Regions from separate parts of the Homo sapiens genome. Here regions 1, 2, 4, 5, 6 and 7 are each linked to region 3. The links are contacts of gene promoters, found by promoter capture Hi-C in blood cells and fetal thymus (Javierre and others, 2016). All regions are on one chromosome and are shown on one strand. Each heading gives the region's core, a stretch centred on a gene start or on the middle of the fragment in contact. The rest is flanking DNA. Distances are from core to core; before and after follow the strand shown. Region 1 overlaps LINC00523 (long intergenic non-protein coding RNA 523). Region 2 has its middle 27 kb from the start of DLK1. Region 3 holds the start of DIO3OS (DIO3 opposite strand upstream RNA). Region 4 has its middle 4.6 kb from the start of DLK1. Region 5 has its middle 26 kb from the start of MIR2392. Region 6 has its middle 10 kb from the start of LINC00523. Region 7 has its middle 28 kb from the start of DLK1.

Region 1 (2,707 bases), core at 138-2,637, 890 kb before region 3:
TCCTGCTTCCCCCCCACTCTCCTCAAGACAGACTCAAAGTCTGTCCTCACCCAAAACCCTCTCGGGAGGCAGACAGCTCCTTACTGCGCCTTCTTGGCGATCTCTCTGCCCCATCCAAGGCTGAGTGAGGCCTCCTGCTTGCTGGCTTCCTGCAGTGCCCCTCTGCCGGCCCCTTCTGTCAAGGCCAAGGACCGACTCAGCCCTCAGCAAGCTAGCACAATAGCCCTCCCCATCTCTGGCTCCAAGTGGGCTCTCACCTATCAGACAGCTGATGATGCTGAGACACTCTGCTGGTTCCATGGTTTTTTTGTTTTAGTTTTTTTGAGACAGAGCCTTGCTCTGTCACCCAGGCTGGAGTGCAGTGGCTTGATCTCGGCTCACTGCAACCTCCACCTCCCTTGTTCAAGCGATTCTCCTGCCTCAGCCTCCTGAGTAGCTGGGATTACAGGTGTGTGCCACTATGCCCGGCTAATTTTTTTGTGTTTTTAGTAGAGACAGGGTTTCACCATACTGGCCAGGCTGGTCTCGAACTCCTGACCTTGTGATCCACCAGCCTCGGCCTCCCAAAGTGCTGGGGTTACAGGCATGAGCCACCGCACCTGGCCCTGGTCCCATGTTTTTTAATAACCACCCCCCTCGGCCACTGTAGACAAGGACGTTCTCTTCCCGGCCTCCAGTTAGGACACTGGCTCTCCTCCAGCTCAGCATGCAGAGGCCTCCCATGGCCTGTGCCAGTTAGCACCTCTCCCAAGACACCTGGGGCCCCCTTCTGGGGAGGAATTTACAATCAAGCAACATCTGGCAGAGAGTGAACTGTAAATGGTGAACACGCTGGCGAGGCAGCGACTCCAATTAGGAAACAACTAGATTTCTCTAAGTATGATGGGAAAGTAATTCTCTGGCCAACAGAGTTTAATCAGAATGTTTTATGCAAGACGTATCCCTGACCCTGACAAATCTTCCCCTTCTTGCTGGAAATTAAACAAATACATTGTCAGCGCGGATTCCGATGAGCGCATAAACAGATGTGGGCTGGTACAATCATGAAATTGAGGAGTTTCAATGACTGAGACGAGCAAGAAACAGGCTGGAAGCTCTGCTGTGTCCTCTAGGCTTTTAGCCATTCCTGCTGTGTGCTGGGGGCCCCAGGAAAACAAAGACTTTCTGCCTTGTCTGTGGCGTCTCTCCATACCCCACCCCCAAAGAGACATCCTTTTCCTCCTTGTGACCCTGTAGTCTAAATGGCATCCTGAATTCCCTTCGGTTCCAGCTCCTGCCACCCTGCCCTGGGAGCATTTGCCCCAGCATCTGTCTCCCCTGGCAGGCCGTTCTGATGTGTCTTCACAGCCCTGGCATCCGGGACAATGCCTGGCACACAGCAGACCTTGAACAACTGTTTGCAAGAGGAAGAGAGGGAGGGCGGGAGGGCGAAGTCCGGGGACTCTGCCTTCCAGGAGGTTCCGTGATCAAAAGCTGACTTGCTTCTGAGTCTGTGGAGCTGAGCTGCAACTCAGCCAGGCTGCAACTCTGTGTGAGGCACTGTTTACTGACCAGGAAAGTGGGCAGAATGGCAGGTGGTTGCTGTGAGAATTACTTAAGGCAGTTGACTCATCTGGCACAGAAGAGGCATGAGCTGGTGGTGGTGGCAGTCGGTGGCTCACACTCCATGGGAAGCAACACTCACTGTGCCGAGTGCCTTGGTGGCAGTGTCGGGGCAAAGACAGAAGGAAGGCGGGAGAAAGACCAATGGTTCCATCCCAGAGGAGGGTGCTACTGGGCTGGCTCTTGAAGTCCCAGAGAGGTGACTCACCTAAAATCTCTCAGAGGGGGACGTTCTCGGGGCAGCCTGGCTTCCCCAGCGCCTTCGGAACCTAACACCTGGGCTTTCCCCCTTGCGCTTTCCCAGGCGCTTTTGGTAGCGTGTAGGCTCATGGACCCTTACCCAGGTCTTCTCATTGACTGTGGAAAATCACCTGGAAAACTTTAGAAGATTCTATTCCCCCAGACCAGCCTTGGAAGTTCTTGTTCAGGAACAGCAGGATGAACCCTGCCTCAGGGTTTGGGACAAACTGCCCAGGTGTGGACCATCCATTTAGCAAATGACTGTAAACGGTAGTGCTTTAGTGACTTGAGCACTCAATGGGATCCAGACAGACAGAGCAGGTGAGAGAGGACTGAGTGGGTCAGAGCCAGCCTGGCCGAGTCCCTGCTCTCCACTCTCCAGCCCTTCCCACTGTGTTCACCTGGGGGCAGGGATTTCCATTGCACAGGGAAGGAATGTGCTGTGCCCAGGGACACCTCCCCCATGGATCCCCATCCAAGGACTAGAATGCTGCCTGGCCCCTTGCTACAGCGATCCCGTGCTTTCCTTTCTCTTTGAGTTGGTACTGTTATCTCAACAGCCTTGGCTTTCTGGGTGAAGATCAGCAGCCATCCAGGCAGGCATTGCAGAGTGATAGATTCTAGGGTCAGACAGGCTGGTGCCCTCCTTATATTATTGACAAAGAAGAAAAAGAGCTCAGGGACAGAGTGGACCCCCTCATCATTCTGGCTTTGGAGATGTGAGACTGTGCTTCTCCTTCTCATGAGACACAGGGAAGAATTCAGGGGGATAAGTACAGACTATGCCAGTAGCTCAGACAGTCTTGGCCTGCATCTCCAGGCGTCCAGGGGGTTGTGAGGTGGGTGGAGCTGGTGAAAAGTGCTG
Region 2 (2,700 bases), core at 125-2,624, 860 kb before region 3:
TACATCATAAATATCACTCCTTTTAAGTATCTAATTCAATAGTGTTTAGTGAATTTGCAGAATTGTACAACCATTATCACAATCTAATTTTAGAACGTTTCCATCACCAAAAAGAAACCTTGCGCTCTGCTGATTTGTTTTTTTCATGTCTTCACTGCGGGGCCTCCCCTCCCCACTCTATGAACAGTAATGGATACCTGTGCACTGTGTCTCCTGCCAGGTTCTGATCCAGGGCTTTCTAAGCACGTATTCACTTACCATCCGGGCAGCCAGGTGGGGCAGGTCCTCCTATGATCCGAGGCCAAAAGTGTCGAAGTACCTGCTGTAGTGGGTGAATGGTGGCCCCAAAAAGCCACGTCCACCTCCTGATTCCCAGAATCTGTGGCTGTGACCTTATTTGGAAAGAGGGTTTTTGCAGATGAAATTAAGTGAAGGATCTCAAGCTGAGATCATCCCGGATTATCTGGGAGGGCCCTAAATACAGTGACAAGTGTGGAAATAAACAAGGGCCGCTCAAACGAGAGAAGCAGAGGCCATTTATCCAGAGCTTTCTGCAGACTGGGCTCAGCTACCACTACTTGTGTTGGGCAGAGACTCAAAGGTGGGAAGAGGAGCGGAGAAGCTTCGCAGGGAAAGCTGGAGCTGCTTTGGGTGTGCTCTGACCGGAGGCTGTTGGTGTGGGGGAGCCAGAGGTGCCTACCTAGCATCGGGGCATCACCTGGGATGGGCTAGGGTGCATATTTGGCTTTCTCTGGTTGGCCGTTAGTCAGAAGTGGGACAAAAATAGGAAGCTGTCAGTTAGGAGTCAAGTCCTGGCCATTTGGGGCCAATTGTCACAGAAGCCACGGTTTAGCTTCCTGCATTGTCACTAGAGATGGCTATCGGGCCTCCTGCAAGCCTGGCTCACTGCAGGCTGGCTTCCTCCACTGTTTATGGGGGATGTGGGGTCAGTTTCCTGGCAGGTTGTTGCAGGTGTGGGTCAGCGTTCTGTTTTCAGAACAGACCCCTGTGGGAGGGGCACTGAGCTTCCTGGTGGCCAGTGGGAAGAGGGGGTCATGGCAGAGTGAGATAGAAGCAGAGAGTGGGCTTGGGGTCTGTCTGGGAGCAGGCAAGAGCACTGTTGGGTAAGAACTACTTGAAAAGGGACAGCGGCCGGGCGCGGTGGCTCACGCCTGTAATCCCAGCACTTTGGGAGGCCGAGGAGGGTGGATCATGAGGTCAGGAGATCGAGACCATCCTGGCTACCAAGGTGAAACCCCGTCTCTACTAAAAATACAAAAAATTAGCCGGGCGCGGTGGCGGGTGCCTGTAGTCCCAGCTACTCGGGAGGCTGAGGCAGGAGAATGGCGTGAACCCGGGAAGCGGAGCTTGCAGTGAGCTGAGATTGCGCCACTGCAGTCCGCAGTCCGGCCTGGGCGACAGAGCGAGACTCCGTCTCAAAAAAAAAAAAAAAAAAAAAAGAAAAGGGACAGCAAACCTCAATGGTATGGCCACTGTCCCTTTGGATATTTAGTCCCTTGCAGGTGTCCTTTGACACACAGAGACGAGACGCAGGTTGTGTGGAGACAGAGGCAGGGGTTGGAAGGAGGCTGCCACAAGCCAACGAATACCTGGAGGACCAGAAGCTGCAAGAGGCCTGAGAGGACCCTCCCCTAGAGCCTCTGGAGAGAGCACGGCCCTGCCCACACCTGAGCTGTGGACTTGTGGCCTCCGGAACAATGAAAGAATAAATTTCTGTTGTTTTTAGCCACCAAGATGTGGAAATTTGTAATGGCAGCTGACAGAAGTTTGCCCAAGGTGACACCATTGGTGGATGGAAGGACTAGGATTGGAGCCCAGGCAAGGTTCTGGTAGGGAGTGGGAGCAGGGCTTGCCCATTCCACCACAGCAAGGCAGGTGGATGGGGGCTGCGGGAGGGCAAGAAGGGCTCTGTGGTTACCAGTTTGCAGCCCCAGGAGGATCCACGCTCCTAGTGAAAGCCAGGCCATGAGGCTCTGTGCTGGTTGGAAGTGGGAAAGCTCAGGTCTCATTCATTCATCCAATCATTCATTCATTCATTCCACCTTCACCCAGATCTGAAGATGGCCTTGGTGGCTTGTGACATAGTTCTGAGCAGTGCTCTGGACCAAGCTTGTTCTTCAGATCCATCCTTGGCCTCATGAGGGGCCGGGCAGGTCAATACCCTCTGCCTATACACCTGCAGGATCCCCTTGCAGGCTGTCAATCCCGAAGCCCCAGAACCGCGCAGATTTCCTTCTGTGTTAATACCTTAAAAATTGAAGAAAAATCCAGCTGTCACACAATGTCACTGTTGAAGGCCTTGATGTTATTCTTCCTTCACTCTGCTCCAGAATGGCTTTAAAGTGGCTTATCTAGTGACACCCACATAGCAAGTAGAGGGAGGCTGGGATGAGGGCAAACCGGGCAGGGGGAAGGGAGCTGGTGAGGCACACAGAGGCCAGCATGAAGCTGTGCAGACCCTGTGGGCAGGCCACAGGGAGGGGCACTGAGCTTCCTAGTGGCCAGCAGGAAGAGGGGGTCATGGTAGTGTGAGATAGAAGCAGAGCGTGGGCTAGGGCTCTGTCCGGGGCAGGTGAAAGCACTGTCGAGTAAGAACAACTTGAGAAGGGACAGCAAACACCAGGCTGAGCCCCTGTCTCTGCTGGGCTGGCCCTAGTCTGGCTGGGAGGTGGGAGGCAT
Region 3 (2,700 bases), core at 163-2,662:
CATTTTCTGAAACTAACTGTGGGAAAAGGGCTTGGGGAACCATCCCATGTGCCTGCACCAAATGCTGTGTGGGTGGGGCAGGACACAAGCCCTACACTGACACCTCCCAGAAATCAGGGAATCAGAGCTTGAGAGATTGTCCAGTAAAAGTTGGAACCCTCAACACCCCTTGACTCTGCCCAGGAGGAGCAACCTCAGAAGCCCCCCCAAACCTCCTCTCAGAGACCTGCCGAGTAGGAGGCTTCTCTCTCTACTCTCCTCCCCGCAAAAAAGAGGCCAGAAAAGAGGATGATTGGCTAACTCAGAGGTGCCCTGATGGAGGGGAGCAAACAAGGGGACTTCCAAGGAGAATTCCCTAGCCCACCTGAAAGACCCCTACCCAGAGTGGTGAGGGGCAGCTTAGGAGCACTGACGCAAGGGGGAGAGACCAGGCTGGCTTCCCTCTACGTAGTAAGTTCCTGGGGTGTGCGCCCCTGCCCCAGACAGCAGAGAAATCGCCTGACTGGGAGATGGAGAAGAGGGGCCACCTTCTCATGCCACCCCGCCGCCAATCCTCCAGGCACACTCGGGCGCTTGACCTGCTGAAGCCTGTAGCCTCAGGTCCAGTGAGGAGCTCACGGGACAGAGGGCCCTACCAGAGCCACGAAAACCGGAGGGGGGGACCTCCGCCCAAGGCAGGCGTCTCTGCGCGCCCGCTGGGGCCCTGGTCCTGCAGTTGGCTTCTCCCGACACGTTCCTTCGCTGCCGAAAGCGATTCGCCCGCGCTCTACCGAGCCCAGCCAGCTCCTACCTCGGCCCGGGCGGCGAGCGCTGTCTCCGTCCCGAGAAGAAGTTTCGCGGCTGGTCCCGGGGCGGCAGGCGCACGGGACGCTGGCGGCGGCGGCGGCTTCCGACTTGGGCTCAGACCCCGCCGCTCCAGACAAGTCCCCGCGACTGCGACAGTGTCTCGGGCAGTTCAGCTCCCCAGACGGGAGACAGACCCTCGCGACCTGGTTCAGGCCTTGCCCTGGGGGACACTGCAGTCCAAGGCGAAAGGAGACTTGCTCCCGGCCTCTGGGTCCCTAGGTCAAGGCACCTCCCCGCCCCGCCGCCCCTGAGCCCAAGTCGCCAACCCCGCGCCGCGCGCAGCGAGGGATCAGAAGGTCTCGGACGCCGCGGCAGGGCCGGCCAGGGCCCCACGAGTTAGGGAGTTGCCCCGCACCCCTAAACGCTCAGCACCCATTTACGGTTGAAAGTACGCACTTGACGCGTCCGGGCGCCTCCGCGGTGAGTCGCGCCGCCGCTCTCGGGGTCCGCGAAGGTGGCTCAGTTCGGGCGCTCCAGTCTCGACGTTCCCGGGGTAGAGAGCAACGTCCGGGGACGAACGGGACGGGTGCGCCCAGCGGCCGGGGCTGCGCTGGGCGAGGCAAGCGGCGAGAGGGGAGCGCTCCGGCGTTCAGGCAACAGCTACCCCTAGTGGGAGAGCCGCCCGGGGCCGGCGCCGCCCCGCGCCCGCTGCCCCGCGCCCCACGCCCGTGGCGCCCCGCGCCCGGGTCGGCTGGGGGCGCAGGGCCGGCGCCGCTTTCCCCAGCTCTCCGGTCTCCGGCGCCCGGCGGTAACCCGCCCGCGGGCTCTGCCCTCCGCACCTCTCAGCCCGGCCCCGGCGGCCGCTGACCCAGGAACCGCGGCGCCCCGCTGGAACGAGATGGGACGGGGCGGGCGCGGCCAGGGCGGCGCGGGCTGGGGCGGCGCGCGGCAGCCTCGGGCAGCGGCGGGGGGCGCGGAGCGCGGTGTGCGTGGCGGGGCGGTGCGGGGGGCGGCCGTGTGCGAGGCGCGAGTGTGAGCGCGCGCGGGAGGCGGGCGGGCGGGCTCCGGCAGGCGAGCGGCGCCCGCGGGCGAGCCAGGAAGGCGGCGGGAACGCAAAGTTGCCTCCTCGCTGGCCCGCGTCCTCGGTGGGGCGGGAGCCGGGGCCACCGAAGCGGCGGCCGCGGACCCGGCCTCCCGCGGCACCTGGGCAGCGGCCCCGCACGAGCGGCAGCGGCGTGGGCGGCGTTGGCGGCGGCGCGCGGGAAGCGAACCGGAGCTCCGGCGCGGCTCGGCGGCCGCCGGGGAGCTCGGCTCAGGTGCGCGGCGAGGGGGGCGCGGGCCGGAGCCAGGCGGCGGGGACCAGGGCGGCGCGCAGCGCTCGCGCCAGCTGGAGGACCTCCCCAGCGGACGCCCAGGTCCCTGGTCGGGCTCCCGGTCCCCAGCGGCAGCGGCTGCCGGAGTCCCCCGCCCCCGAGAGCTGGCTGCGGGGCCCGGGCCCGCCCCCACCGGCCCCAGGCCCGGCCGCTCCGCCCTCCGCCCGCCTGCGCCCGCCCTCAGCCCAAGATTTCTAGGGCATTGGCCGCGCTGCTGGGTGATCCCTCCGGGCTCAAGTTGCAAGGGGGCGGGCCGGGCCGGAGGTGGAGTCTCCCGCCAATTGAAGCCTCCGCTATAAATTGAACTCCCTGCACTGCTGAAGCCCAGATGCCTCGCCAGGCCACGTCGCGGTTGGTGGTCGGAGAGGGCGAGGGGTCCCAGGGGGCTTCGGGGCCTGCAGCCACCATGCTCCGCTCCCTGCTGCTTCACTCCTTGAGGCTCTGCGCCCAGACCGCCTCGTGCCTCGTGCTCTTCCCGCGCTTCCTCGGCACGGCCTTCATGCTCTGGCTTCTCGATTTCTTGTGTATCCGCAAGCATTTC
Region 4 (2,700 bases), core at 85-2,584, 840 kb before region 3:
GATGGGAAGGGTCGGGTGGCCCAGCCTGATTCCCAAGACTTAGCATCAAGTCTGGGCATGACATGTGCGAAGGTTGACTCTGGTATGACAAAAGAGGGCTTCTTGTTCCGTGGACTGTTTGCCAGGGCAAAGGAGGCTGCAGAATGTTGGAGAATAGTTAAGAGATTTATGTCCGAAATGTTGAAAGTTTTGCAACATTCTGCCTCATTCTTCACCATGCTAACTTTGCCCTCACTAACAGAACAGCCAACACTTCCTCGCCATCTCATGTGCATGCATACACACACTCATGTCTCGTTCACACATCTGTGCCTGTACAGCTCTCTCTGCCTGGAAGGGCCTCCCCATACCCTCCTGGAGAACTTCTGTGTACTCTGCACACACAGCTGAGGACTAACCCTCTGAGAGATGCATGATCGCCCTTCCCATGTGTGGCCAGTCCCAGTATCCACAACCCTGCATCTCAGAGGGTGTCTAAGCACTGGGTCCGCACTTGAACTCTCTGAGATGAGAAACCACCTTCAAATCCATCATTGCACCCTCCTTCCAGGGACCCCGCCGAGCCTCGGCACCCAGTAGGAGCTCAGTCAATACCAGGCAGATGAAAGGCTACATTTAAAGAGGTGAGCCTCTGTTTTATGGAAAATTAACTTCTGGGAATTTTTGATGAATGAATTCCTGCATTTTTGGCCAAAGCCTGCGTGGACAAGCTGAGTGATGAAAAGGCCCCTTTTTCCTCCGGCCCCTGATTTCCTCCCTCCTGAGTGGGAGTGAGTCTATCTACAAGCTCTGGGGTGGGGTGGGGAGTTGTTATTAACCCCTCCAAGCCCCTGGGAGCACCCCACGCACAGCATGACTCAGTGGTGCTCTGTAAGAGGATCATGTGATTGATGATGTGGACAATTACATTGTGGACTTACATCCCTGTTGATTCCAATGGCAAGGAAGGAAACGAGAAGTCTGTTTTTAAATCCTATCAGCAATGACGAGAAACTGGTTCTGTCTGGGGGAGAGGTGAGACCCCACAGAAGCCAACTCTAAATATAGACCCAAACCAATGAGTCCCCTCTGCACCCCAGCTCTCTGGTATTTTTCCTTCCCAGAAGCTTGCTGTGGGGCCTGGGGGAGTGATACGCAGGCCTGTTTTGGGGACTCGGGGATACGGGCTGGCTCTGCGCCCCCACCCACAGCACCCTGCCGCCCTGGAGAACCCTGGAGTGGGCCTGGAACTGTCATACGCCTCTTCAGGCGCCAAGCACAAGGCCAGGCTCAGCATGTGTCCCTCTGCAGCCGTACTCCCAGCTCGGCTGAGCACGATGCCACTTCACACTGAAGACCTTTTCTCTGATTAAACTTGAAACCAAACCTTCATGTTCTGGAAAATGTATCAGGTTATGTCTTTCATTTCCCTCCACCCTCTGCCCCCAGGTCCCCTCTCCTCGGTAGAAGAAAAGAGAATTTGTCTCCAAAGATGAGCTTCAGGTTTGGAAAAATACTCCGAGAGGTGGCAGCTGCGTGTCTCCTTGGTGTTTGCATGAAACCCTCACAGCCTCCCAGGTTGTGAAGCTTCCCCCTCCCACCCAAGGAGGGGAGGGCAGGCTTCTGGGGGAGCCCACTTTCCTCCAGGCTCCATGCACTCTAACCACCCCGCTGGGCTGGGCAGAGAGCCTTGCACTGGGATTTTGAGTAGACCCGGGTTCAAATTCCAGCTCTGCCACTGGTTAGCCATGCACCTCTCTTGGGGTCCCCCAGCCTCAGTGTGCTCAGCCACTGCCCAGTGGACTCTGGGCAGTCCCCACCTAGCCCAGGCCGTGAGGAGGCTCTGATGAGACAGGGTTAAATTAGAGTCTAAATCCGAGGGAGAAGTGAGGGAGATGCAGAAAGGGCAATGCCTGCTTGCCTGTAAGCCCTCAACACAGGGATGGTGGCTTCTTGGCGGGGGAGCCTCCTGCCCAGCTGTCTCCTGGATGTTCCGGTTCTAGGACTCTAACTAGGCCACCTGAGTCTCTGGGCACTGGTCCTCGCCTTGGTCAGTCCCTTGGGGAGGAAGAGCAGGCAGATCTGGGGGAGCCCACCCTCCTTCTCTCTTGGAGGGAGGATGGAGAACGTTGGGTGTGGGGACAGGGGACAAAGGCATCTCTTGTCTGTAGGATGCCCACTAGGACTGGATCAGTGGGGGCTCAGATCCCCCCACCCCGGCAAAAAAAAAAAACAAAAAAAACCAAAAAAAAAACCTAGTCTAGGCAGAAGCAAAGCCTCAAGGCATGGAGATCCCCACCGAGGCTGTGGGGGTGGTGAGCAGAGCAGAATGTGAAGGTGGGGTGAAGCCCCCTCGCCGGCCACCCCTGCTCTTGCCCTCCCATCCCCGCTGGTGCCCGGGACTAGTAAGTCTCAGAGGCCCCTCTAGCTCCACCCAGCTGAGCTGCCCTGATCAGTGTTTCTGCCTTTAATCAGGGGCGAAGTGGTCTGGGGCTGGCTGGAGGAAGAGTTAGTGTTTAGAAAAGGAGGAGGGGGAGCAGACAGGAGGGGAGAGCAGAGGAGCGGGGAGGAAAAAGGGCTGGAGACAACACTTCTTTCCTTCCCTCGGAAAACTTTTGCTCATCACCAGCTCCTCTGCTGCCCCGGCAAAGCCCAGCAACACTGCCTCCGGACAGGTTCCCCTTGCTTTCGGCTCTTGCCTGCGGGGTGCGGGGCCATAGG
Region 5 (2,700 bases), core at 150-2,649, 770 kb before region 3:
ACCCATCCGTCTGTCAGAGCGTCCTGCCTGACCCATCTGACTTCTCATTTATCACCCCATTGGGCGGAGTTGACCCCACTGGGGGTTTATGCATTTCTTAAAAGACCCCTTTCAAGTGAGGTAACTGTAAAGTGCCTGAGGTTTTGGGAGATGGGGACTCGTCAACAAAACCCCATTTCCAAGGGGAAATCTCCTAACTCTCCCGAAAAGAGACCAAAACTTTCCCCCACATTTCTTCCCCGTCCCTGAGGCATGACCTTCTGGGTGGCAGGATTGCAGGGTGTCCTAGCTTTTCCAAAACCTCTCTCTTTAGAAGCGTCTGGCTTTTGGAACCCAGAACCATCAAGGGAGACAGGAAGAATGTTTGCAATTCTTCAGTTGCCGGACCCCATCGCAAAGCTTCCCCCAGGCCCTAGGAGAGGGAGCTGGTATGGCCAGCCGCCTGCCGGGCCGGGCCCACCATCTTTGCTCTCTTGCCATTCTCAGAGCCTTTAAAACTACAGACTCTGCTTCAAGCAAAGAGTCACTGGGCCCCCGGCCCTGGACTACGCCATTCAGAAGTCAAAGGTCATTCTAACGCCTTTCCTGCAGTTTTGGGCTGGCTTAGCGGGGTGAAGATCCGGAGGCAGTGCCCCGCATGACAGCGGAGGGTTCAGCACCCCTCCCGCAGCCCTGCAAGCCCCAAGAATGCACCTCCTCCAGGACGCAGCACTTAGCTTCCATTTCCTAATGCAAGTCTCTGCCTCAGTTTCCCCATCTGCAAAGCAGAGCTGAGAACCTGTTTCACTCACCCCAACGCCTGCACGAGCTAGGCTCTGGGGCTGACTCTCGGTGTCTCCTTTTCTAATTGTTTGTCCCCACTGTGACTTGAATGAGAGCAGAGTGTGTCTCGGAGTCCTCTCATCCCAGCAACCCCAATACTTAATAGTGCCCTCAGCCCAGTCACTCTTTGTAAAGGAATAAACGGGTGAATCCCAGGACCTACTACCCACCTTATAGTCTTGAGTAACATCCAGTCTGTGCCTGACCCATGGAGAATACCCAGTAAATGGTCAGCCCCTAGAGCTATCCGCAAACACAAATCCTTCACGACTCTCACTGAATGGGGGTGCACGGGAGTTCCCCATTAATTGACATGGAAGAAACATTTTTTTACTAATTTTGCACAAAGTTGGGTGTGCATGGGAGGGGCACCCTCTCTCTCTCTCGGCCTTCACAGCACCCACCGCCCTGTGCAAGCTCAGTCTGGCCCAGGATCCAACCTTCTTATGTATTTATTTAAACCCTGCCTCATTCCGGAGAGAATTTAAGGCCTCACCATGAATACCATCTTTGTGTGGCCTTCCAGCGCCAAAGGCCAGGAAACCCAGGCCAGGCACGTCTGGAGGTGGGGCCCCCCTGTGGCCTCAAGGCCTGGGCCAATCCTGCCTGGCGGCCTGTCCCCATTTCCTGCCATCTGTGGGGAGAGGCCTCCCCAGCCGGCTACCTCCCGCTGTCCTCTGACTCTCCCCCTGCAGGGCCACCCAGACCTTGCTCTGAGGCTCTCCCGATCCTGGAACAAGCAGATCTTGCCAAGTTCCTGTATTGGAAGATAAATCATATTGAAATTCTCTTTAAAACCCATAGATGAAGCAGCACCTTGGTGTTCGTGTATTTGCGCACACAGAGCTGCCCTCCCGTGATGGTGCTGGGAGACCAGCAGCCTGCAAGAGAGAGGGTTTGGGGGAGGACTTCCTGTCCAGAGCTCCATGCATGTCTCAGGTCACTGGAGGGAGGGCATAGCCCCGTCCTCACCTAGCACAGGGCGGGGCAAGGCCGGGAATGTCTGTACTGTGGGTCTCTGCCTAAAATCTGTCCCTGGTTCCTGGAAGGCATCACTTGATCTGGGACGGCCACCCCTCCCAACTCATCAAGATGTTACATCACCCTAACCTCTTGGCTGCCCCCTGGAATCCAGAGGATGGCTTTGAAGTCTAAGGGATATCTGGGGCTGATGAATTCAGAGGCCTCTTAAGTAGGGCTTGGGGTGCACATCCAGGATTAGGCCATCTCCTCAAATTTAACGGCAGGTTTGAATGCAGATGTTTCTGTAGTGAGGTTGAGCATAGCTCCAGAAAGCTGTGGCCACGGAGGACTTCTGCAGGGTGGTGTCAGGAGCCTGAGTGGCCTGTACTCAGGGGAGGCCCTCATCCCAGATGGATGAAGGGGCCGTGAGCTCAGGAAAGACTGAGTGGCCTTCCCTTCCGTGCGTGGTCTCAAATCCCTGAAATGCTTTGACTCCCAGGCCTGCAGCCCTCCAGGAGAATTGTTCAGACTTCAAAGACTTGTTTCAAATGGAAAGAAAACCTCCGCAGACCATGGGGCTCAGGAAACTTCTCCTAAAGATCTCTTGCACCCCTGAAGCTTCTGATTGAAGAATGGGAAGAAGTCTGCAAAAACCAGAGTTGCTGTTGAGCCTGGTGCTGGTCAGTTATTAATAAAAAGACCAATAAATGTAGGTCCCACATGGAGGCAAAGCTGAAACCAGACTGCAGGCACTTAAACATTCCGGTCTGCACAGGCTCTGTCCTCCTCCCAGTGGCGCCTGCTCCACTTGTGGCTGGGGGACATTTGGGTGGTCCTACCACCTGTTGGAAGTGCTCAGATGCCTGGAACCAAACCAGGTCCTGAACATAGGTTGGGACGTGGCACTTCATGTTG
Region 6 (2,700 bases), core at 181-2,680, 910 kb before region 3:
GCCAACTGCGTTCACCGCACTGCTGGAGAGGCCGCCCACACTGCAGGAGTCTGCCCAGCCACCGCCCAGTACCAGGAGGGAAAATCCCTGCCTCCTGTCCTGTCTCTCCAGCGCCCTCTGCTGACAAAGCTTAATGTGGTGTCGACAGGCAAAGAAAATCACAAAGGCACCAGCTCATTTTTTAATACAACAGCCAATGCAGGGCAGATTCGGAGCTGGGAGACAATAAATTGATAACTGGCACGGTCCACCCCTTTGGCTACTCACCTTCCATGTGTACTACACACATTTGGACTCCTGTACAGCAGCAAAACATCTTTATATCTCCACCTAACAAGATGCAGCTACAGATCTTACCCATGACAGTTTCTGCCCTCTCTCTGAAACGAGGAGACATGCAGTCCAGCAGCCAGTGTTTCTGTCACTGACTATGTGAATTACTCCTCAAATTCATTTGCATTTCCACTAAATATTTTATTACCTACACACTAAACTGTGAAGTTAACTTCCAACAGTTTGGATATAAAATAAAAATGGAAAGGAGGGGAAGAAAATAATTAGTCTAGGCTGGGTGTGGTGGCTCACGCCTGTAATCCCAGCACTTTGGGAGGCTGGACCAGGTGGATCACTTGAGCCCAGGAGTTCAAGCCCAGCCTGGGCAACATAAGAAGACCCCACCTCTACATAAAGTTTAAAAAATTAGCCAGGCATGGTGGGTACTTGCCTGTGGTCCCAGCTACTTGGGAGGCTGAGGTGGGAGGATCACTTGAGCCTGGGAGGTTGAGGCTGTAGTGAGCGGTAATCACGCCACTGCACTCCAGCCTGGGCAACAAAGTGAGGCCCTGTTTCAAAAAAAATGATTAGCCTCTACAGATAAGTATGTACATAAAACAAACAAGTAGAAAATAGCTACTATGGGACTCATTTCTGTAAGGTAGTTGTGAGGTTAGAATTGATATCAATGGCTTCCTTCTTCAACTACCCATTCTACACTTCCCCTGTCCTTAGCCAGAACCTCAGCTGGCCTCTAACTAGTGGAGTGAGCCTAGTCTCCCTTCATGAAGGCTGTGAGTCCTCTGTCACCATGCACGTTTTTGGTTGCTGTACTTTTCCATTAACCATTTGCTAGGATCTGAATGTTTGCAAAATCCATACTTTAAAATCCAAAACCCCTACTAGGTGATGGTATTAGGAGGTGGGGCCTTTGAGAGGTGAGCGCTCCTCACGGGTATTAGTGCCCTTACAAATGAAATCCGGAGAGCTAGTTTCCCACTCCCACCACGTGAGGATACAGCAAGAAGATGTTGTCTAGGAGGAATCAGATCTTTACCAAACACCAAATCTGCCAGTCCCTTGATCTTGTACTTATCAGCCTCTAGAGCAATGGGAAATACATTTCTGTTATTTATAAGACACTTAGTTTATGGTATTTTGTTATAGCAGCCAAGATGGGCTAAGACAGAAAATTGTTATGGAGAAGTAGAGGTGCTGCTGTAACACATACCTAAAAATGTGGAAGTGGCTTTGAAACTGGGTAATGGGTACAGACTGCCAAGAGTTTTGAGGTGCATTCTAGGAAAAACCTGCATTGCTGTGAGTGGATCATAAGGTGAATTCTAGTGAGGGCCCAGACGGGGAGGAGCAGAGCTGCAGAAAAAGCCTCCAGCTTCTTAGAGAATACCTAAGCAGTCATTAACAGAAGGTTGGTAGAAATATGGATGGCACAGGCCATTCCGATGAACTCAGACAGAAGGTGAAATGTATCATTGGACAAGGAAGGAAAGGCCACCCTTGTTACAAAGTACAAAGAACTTGGCTGAATTGTGTTCATGTTCTAGTGTTTTGCGGAAGGTAGAGCCTGTGAGCAATGAAATTGGATATTTGATAGAGGAAATTTCTAAGCAAAGTGTTGAAGGTGTAGCCTGGTGTCTCTTGACTGCTTATAGTAAAAAGTGAGAAAACAGAAATGATTCAAAGACAGAATTGTCAATCAAAAGAGAAGCAGAACTTAAACAGTTGGAAAATTTTCAGCCTATCCATATTGGAAAAAATGACAAAACATATTGGAGAGAGAACAAGGATGTGGCTAAATGACTGATAAATAGATAAGTATGGGCTGGGCACGGTGGCTCATACCTGTAATCCCAGCACTTTGGGAGGCCAAGGCAGGTGGATCACCTGAGGTCAGGAGTTCGAGATCAGCCCAGCCAACATGGCGAAATCCTGTCTCTACTAAAAATACAAAAATTTGCCAGACGTAGTGGCACATGCCTGTAGTCCCAGCTACTCAGGAGGCTGAGGCAGGAGAATCACTTGAACCCAGGAGGCAGAGGTTGCAGTGAGCCAAGATTGTACCATTGCACCCCAGCCTTGGTGACAGGAGAGAAACTCCATCTCAAAAAAAAAAAAAAAAAAAAAAAAAAAAAAAAAAAAAGAGATAAGTATGGGTTGGCCATCTCAACAGAAGCCAGGATCTATTCATTAAGACAACAGGAGAGATTAGTCAACCATCTAAACCAGGGGTGTCCAATCTTTTGGTTTCCCTGAGCCACATTGGAAGAAGAACTGTTTTGGGCCACACATAAAATGCACTAACACTAACCATTGCTGATGTACTAAAAAAAATTGCAAAAAAAAAAAAAATCTCATAATGTCTTAGGAAAGTTTATGAATTTGTGTTGGGCTTCAAAGCTGTCCTGG
Region 7 (2,700 bases), core at 89-2,588, 810 kb before region 3:
AAGTGACTGGCAGTAGTGGAGCTTAAAGTTAAATGGGGAGAAAGGTGGAAGGAGGACCACAGCAAATCCTGTCCCTATAAGAACAATGATAAAATTGGACAAAATTGCCAAAAACAACCATTTCGGAACTCTGGACATTAACCAAAGACAAATAACAAATGGAAAGACATTTATTTAATAAAAACAGCTGAGCCTTTGTTGACAGTGGCGGGGTCTGTGCCATTTCAACACAGGGCTGCTCCCACCCACCTCTCTCTGAACTCTGTGGTGTGGCAACCATAAACCCAGAAGTCTTGCTGCTGCTAGAGGGGGCTGATCTAATTTGGAGCTCCATAGAAAAGCACAATGTCCAGAAACACTGTCAAAACAGAGGCCATCTCTATAGCAGACAATCAAAGAAGGCCAATGTCACAGCTACCTAAGTCTGTGACACTGACTTGGGAAAGCAGCAACCAGCCAAAAATTTACAAGAAAGAGCTGGGAAATAAGACAACCATAGGGGCTTTGATAAACCTGACACATTTCTAAGAATCTGGAATGCTGTGCACTTGCCCAAGGTGTAGGAATGTGCAGGAGAGAGTGGAGAGGGCCCAGTTATCTGTTTGTTCCTGGCTGACCACGAGGCCCTGCACAAACAGCAAGTGAAGGTGGGCACACTTGTAAACTGCCTGCCCTCTGAGTGTGTGCCTCACCACACCAAAGGGCAGAAATCTTACTGGCTGAAGGTGTTTAAGCAAAACCTCTGACCAATCATTGGCTGCCTATTAAGGATGCTTACCCAGATTATGCTTAATCTATAGAAAAGGTTTAAAATGAAGGCAGGAATTAAGCAAACAAACAAATAAGATTTCCATGTTTGCACACTGGAGGGGAGACCGGCTCTAAATAATTTATCCAGGCAAGTCACTAAACACACAAATAAATGCAGCAATAGCCTCTAGGGGAGACAAATCAGAACTCAGATTTGTTATAATATTTATCCAAAGCTTCTAGTTTCCAAAAACATGGTGAAACATACAAATAAATAGAAAAATGTGGTCATACACAGAAAAGAAGCAGTGCATACAAGCTATCTCTGAGCAAGCTCAGATATTGGACTTGGTAGACAATGACTTAAAATAATTTACTATAAACATGTTCAAAGGTCTAAAGGAATCTATGTTTAAATAATTAAAGCAGCTGGGTGTGGTGGTACATGCCTGTAATCCTAGCTCCTCAGGAGGCTGAGGTGGGAGGATCACCTGAGGCCAGGAGTTTGAGACAAGGCTGGAGAACACAGCAAAACCCTATTTCAAAAAAAAAAACAAAAAACAGAAAACAAAGAAATAATGTAAAGTATGAGACAACAATGTCTAACCAACAGAGAAAGTCAACAAAAAGATACAAAGTATTAATGAGAACTATATAGAAACTTTGGAATTGAAAAGTATAATACCTGAAATGAAAATTTACTAGAGGTGCTCGACAGCAGGTTTGAGCTAGAGGAAGAAGGACTCAGCAAACTTGAAGACAAGCAATAGAAACCATTTAGTCTAAAGAACAGAAAGAAAAAAGAACAGAATAAAATGAACAGCACTTCTCAGAGACCTGTGGGACAACATCAAGTGAAAGGGGTAAAACCTTTTTTTTTCTTTTAAAGAATAGCTGAAAATGTCCCAAATTTGCTTAAAAATATTAGTATGTAAATACAATAAGCTTAACAAACTCCAAGTGGAATGTCTTAGTCTGTTTGGACTGCTTTAACAAAATTCCATCAACTAGGTGGCTTAGATACAACAGAAATTTATTTCTTACAGTTCCAGAGACTGGGAAGTCTAAGATCAAGGTGCCAGCAGATTCAGTGTCTTGTGAGGGCTGGCTTTCTGGTTCACAGATGGTGCCTTCTCACTGTGTCCTCACATGGCAGAAGGGGTGAAGAAGCTCTCTTGGGCCTATTTTATAAGGACACTGATCCCATTCACAAAGGCTCTGCCCTCATAGCTTAATCTACAAAAGGCCCACCTCCTACTACCATTGGGGTTAGGATTTCAGCATATGAATTTCAGCATATAAATTTTGTGACACAAACCTTCAGATCATAGCATAGAATAAACTCAAAGAAATCCACACCTAGACACACCATAGGCAAAGACTGTGACTATAACATATGTCATCAAAGACAAAGTCTTCAAGGGAACAACAGTAAAATGACTCATCATGTATAAGAGAACCACAATCAGATTACAGCTAATTTATCTTCAGAAACAATGGAAGCTGGAAGGCAGTAGGATATTCAAAGTGTTGAAAGAAGAAACCAATCAATCAAGAATTTATATCCATCAAAATTATCTTTCAAACCTGAAGGCAAAATAAGGACATCCCAAGATAAACAGACGGGAAGGATTCTTTGCTAGCAGACCTGCCTTACAAAAAATGCTAAAGGAAGTCCTTCAGGCTAAAGAAAATCACATCATACGATAACTTGAATCTCCATGAAGAAATAAAGAGCACTTGTGAAGGTAAATGTAAATGTTAGCATAAATATGTTTTTTTACTTGTTTATTCTCTTAATTGATGTAAAACATAACTGAATAAAGCAATAATTATAAAACTGTATTGTTAGGCTTGTAATATATCAAGATGCATTTTATAAGACAGTATTAGCACAAAGAAATGAGAAAAGAAGGAAGATATATTGGAGCAAAATTTCTATATCTTATT

What was found. The method cuts DNA at HindIII sites, captures the fragments that hold promoters and counts their contacts. A CHiCAGO score of 5 or more calls a contact.
Region 1: a contact is called between a fragment that was not itself captured here and the fragment with the promoter of DIO3OS in region 3, in 1 of 17 cell types (M1 macrophages). The highest score is 5.1, in M1 macrophages.
Region 2: a fragment that was not itself captured here is called in contact with the fragment with the promoter of DIO3OS in region 3 in 2 of 17 cell types (M1 macrophages and naive B cells); the score reaches 6.6 in M1 macrophages.
Region 4: a fragment that was not itself captured here is called in contact with the fragment with the promoter of DIO3OS in region 3 in 2 of 17 cell types (naive CD4 T cells and M1 macrophages); the score reaches 6.0 in naive CD4 T cells.
Region 5: a contact is called between a fragment that was not itself captured here and the fragment with the promoter of DIO3OS in region 3, in 1 of 17 cell types (M1 macrophages). The highest score is 5.2, in M1 macrophages.
Region 6: a contact is called between a fragment that was not itself captured here and the fragment with the promoter of DIO3OS in region 3, in 1 of 17 cell types (endothelial precursors). The highest score is 5.2, in endothelial precursors.
Region 7: a contact is called between a fragment that was not itself captured here and the fragment with the promoter of DIO3OS in region 3, in 8 of 17 cell types (M1 macrophages, M2 macrophages, naive CD8 T cells and 5 more). The highest score is 8.6, in M1 macrophages.

What each region holds. Positions count from the first base shown.
Region 1 is chr14:100,664,279-100,666,985 of GRCh38, forward strand. All of the region lies in intron 1 of LINC00523 (long intergenic non-protein coding RNA 523), which reads left to right. Among named protein-coding and RNA genes, the nearest start is that of LINC00523, 8.4 kb to the left of the region's middle. RefSeq lists an enhancer at 2,320-2,707. The HindIII fragment of the contact is 5,308 bases long and covers 1-2,707 here.
Region 2 is chr14:100,698,427-100,701,126 of GRCh38, forward strand. No RefSeq gene overlaps it. Among named protein-coding and RNA genes, the nearest start is that of DLK1, 27 kb to the right of the region's middle. The HindIII fragment of the contact is 1,508 bases long and covers 621-2,128 here.
Region 3 is chr14:101,559,010-101,561,709 of GRCh38, forward strand. DIO3OS (DIO3 opposite strand upstream RNA) reads right to left here and starts at 1,413. Exons shown (of 2, transcript NR_152588.1): 1 at 1,243-1,413. DIO3 (iodothyronine deiodinase 3) reads left to right here and starts at 2,486. Exons shown (of 1, transcript NM_001362.4): 1 at 2,486-2,700. The coding sequence starts at 2,488. MIR1247 (microRNA 1247) reads right to left here and starts at 1,413; the gene lies at 1,278-1,413. The HindIII fragment of the contact is 17,616 bases long and covers 1-2,700 here.
Region 4 is chr14:100,720,915-100,723,614 of GRCh38, forward strand. No RefSeq gene overlaps it. Among named protein-coding and RNA genes, the nearest start is that of DLK1, 4.6 kb to the right of the region's middle. The HindIII fragment of the contact is 460 bases long and covers 1,105-1,564 here.
Region 5 is chr14:100,787,278-100,789,977 of GRCh38, forward strand. No RefSeq gene overlaps it. Among named protein-coding and RNA genes, the nearest start is that of MIR2392, 26 kb to the right of the region's middle. The HindIII fragment of the contact is 2,004 bases long and covers 398-2,401 here.
Region 6 is chr14:100,645,798-100,648,497 of GRCh38, forward strand. No RefSeq gene overlaps it. Among named protein-coding and RNA genes, the nearest start is that of LINC00523, 10 kb to the right of the region's middle. The HindIII fragment of the contact is 2,606 bases long and covers 128-2,700 here.
Region 7 is chr14:100,753,624-100,756,323 of GRCh38, forward strand. No RefSeq gene overlaps it. Among named protein-coding and RNA genes, the nearest start is that of DLK1, 28 kb to the left of the region's middle. RefSeq lists an enhancer at 1,513-2,700. The HindIII fragment of the contact is 709 bases long and covers 985-1,693 here.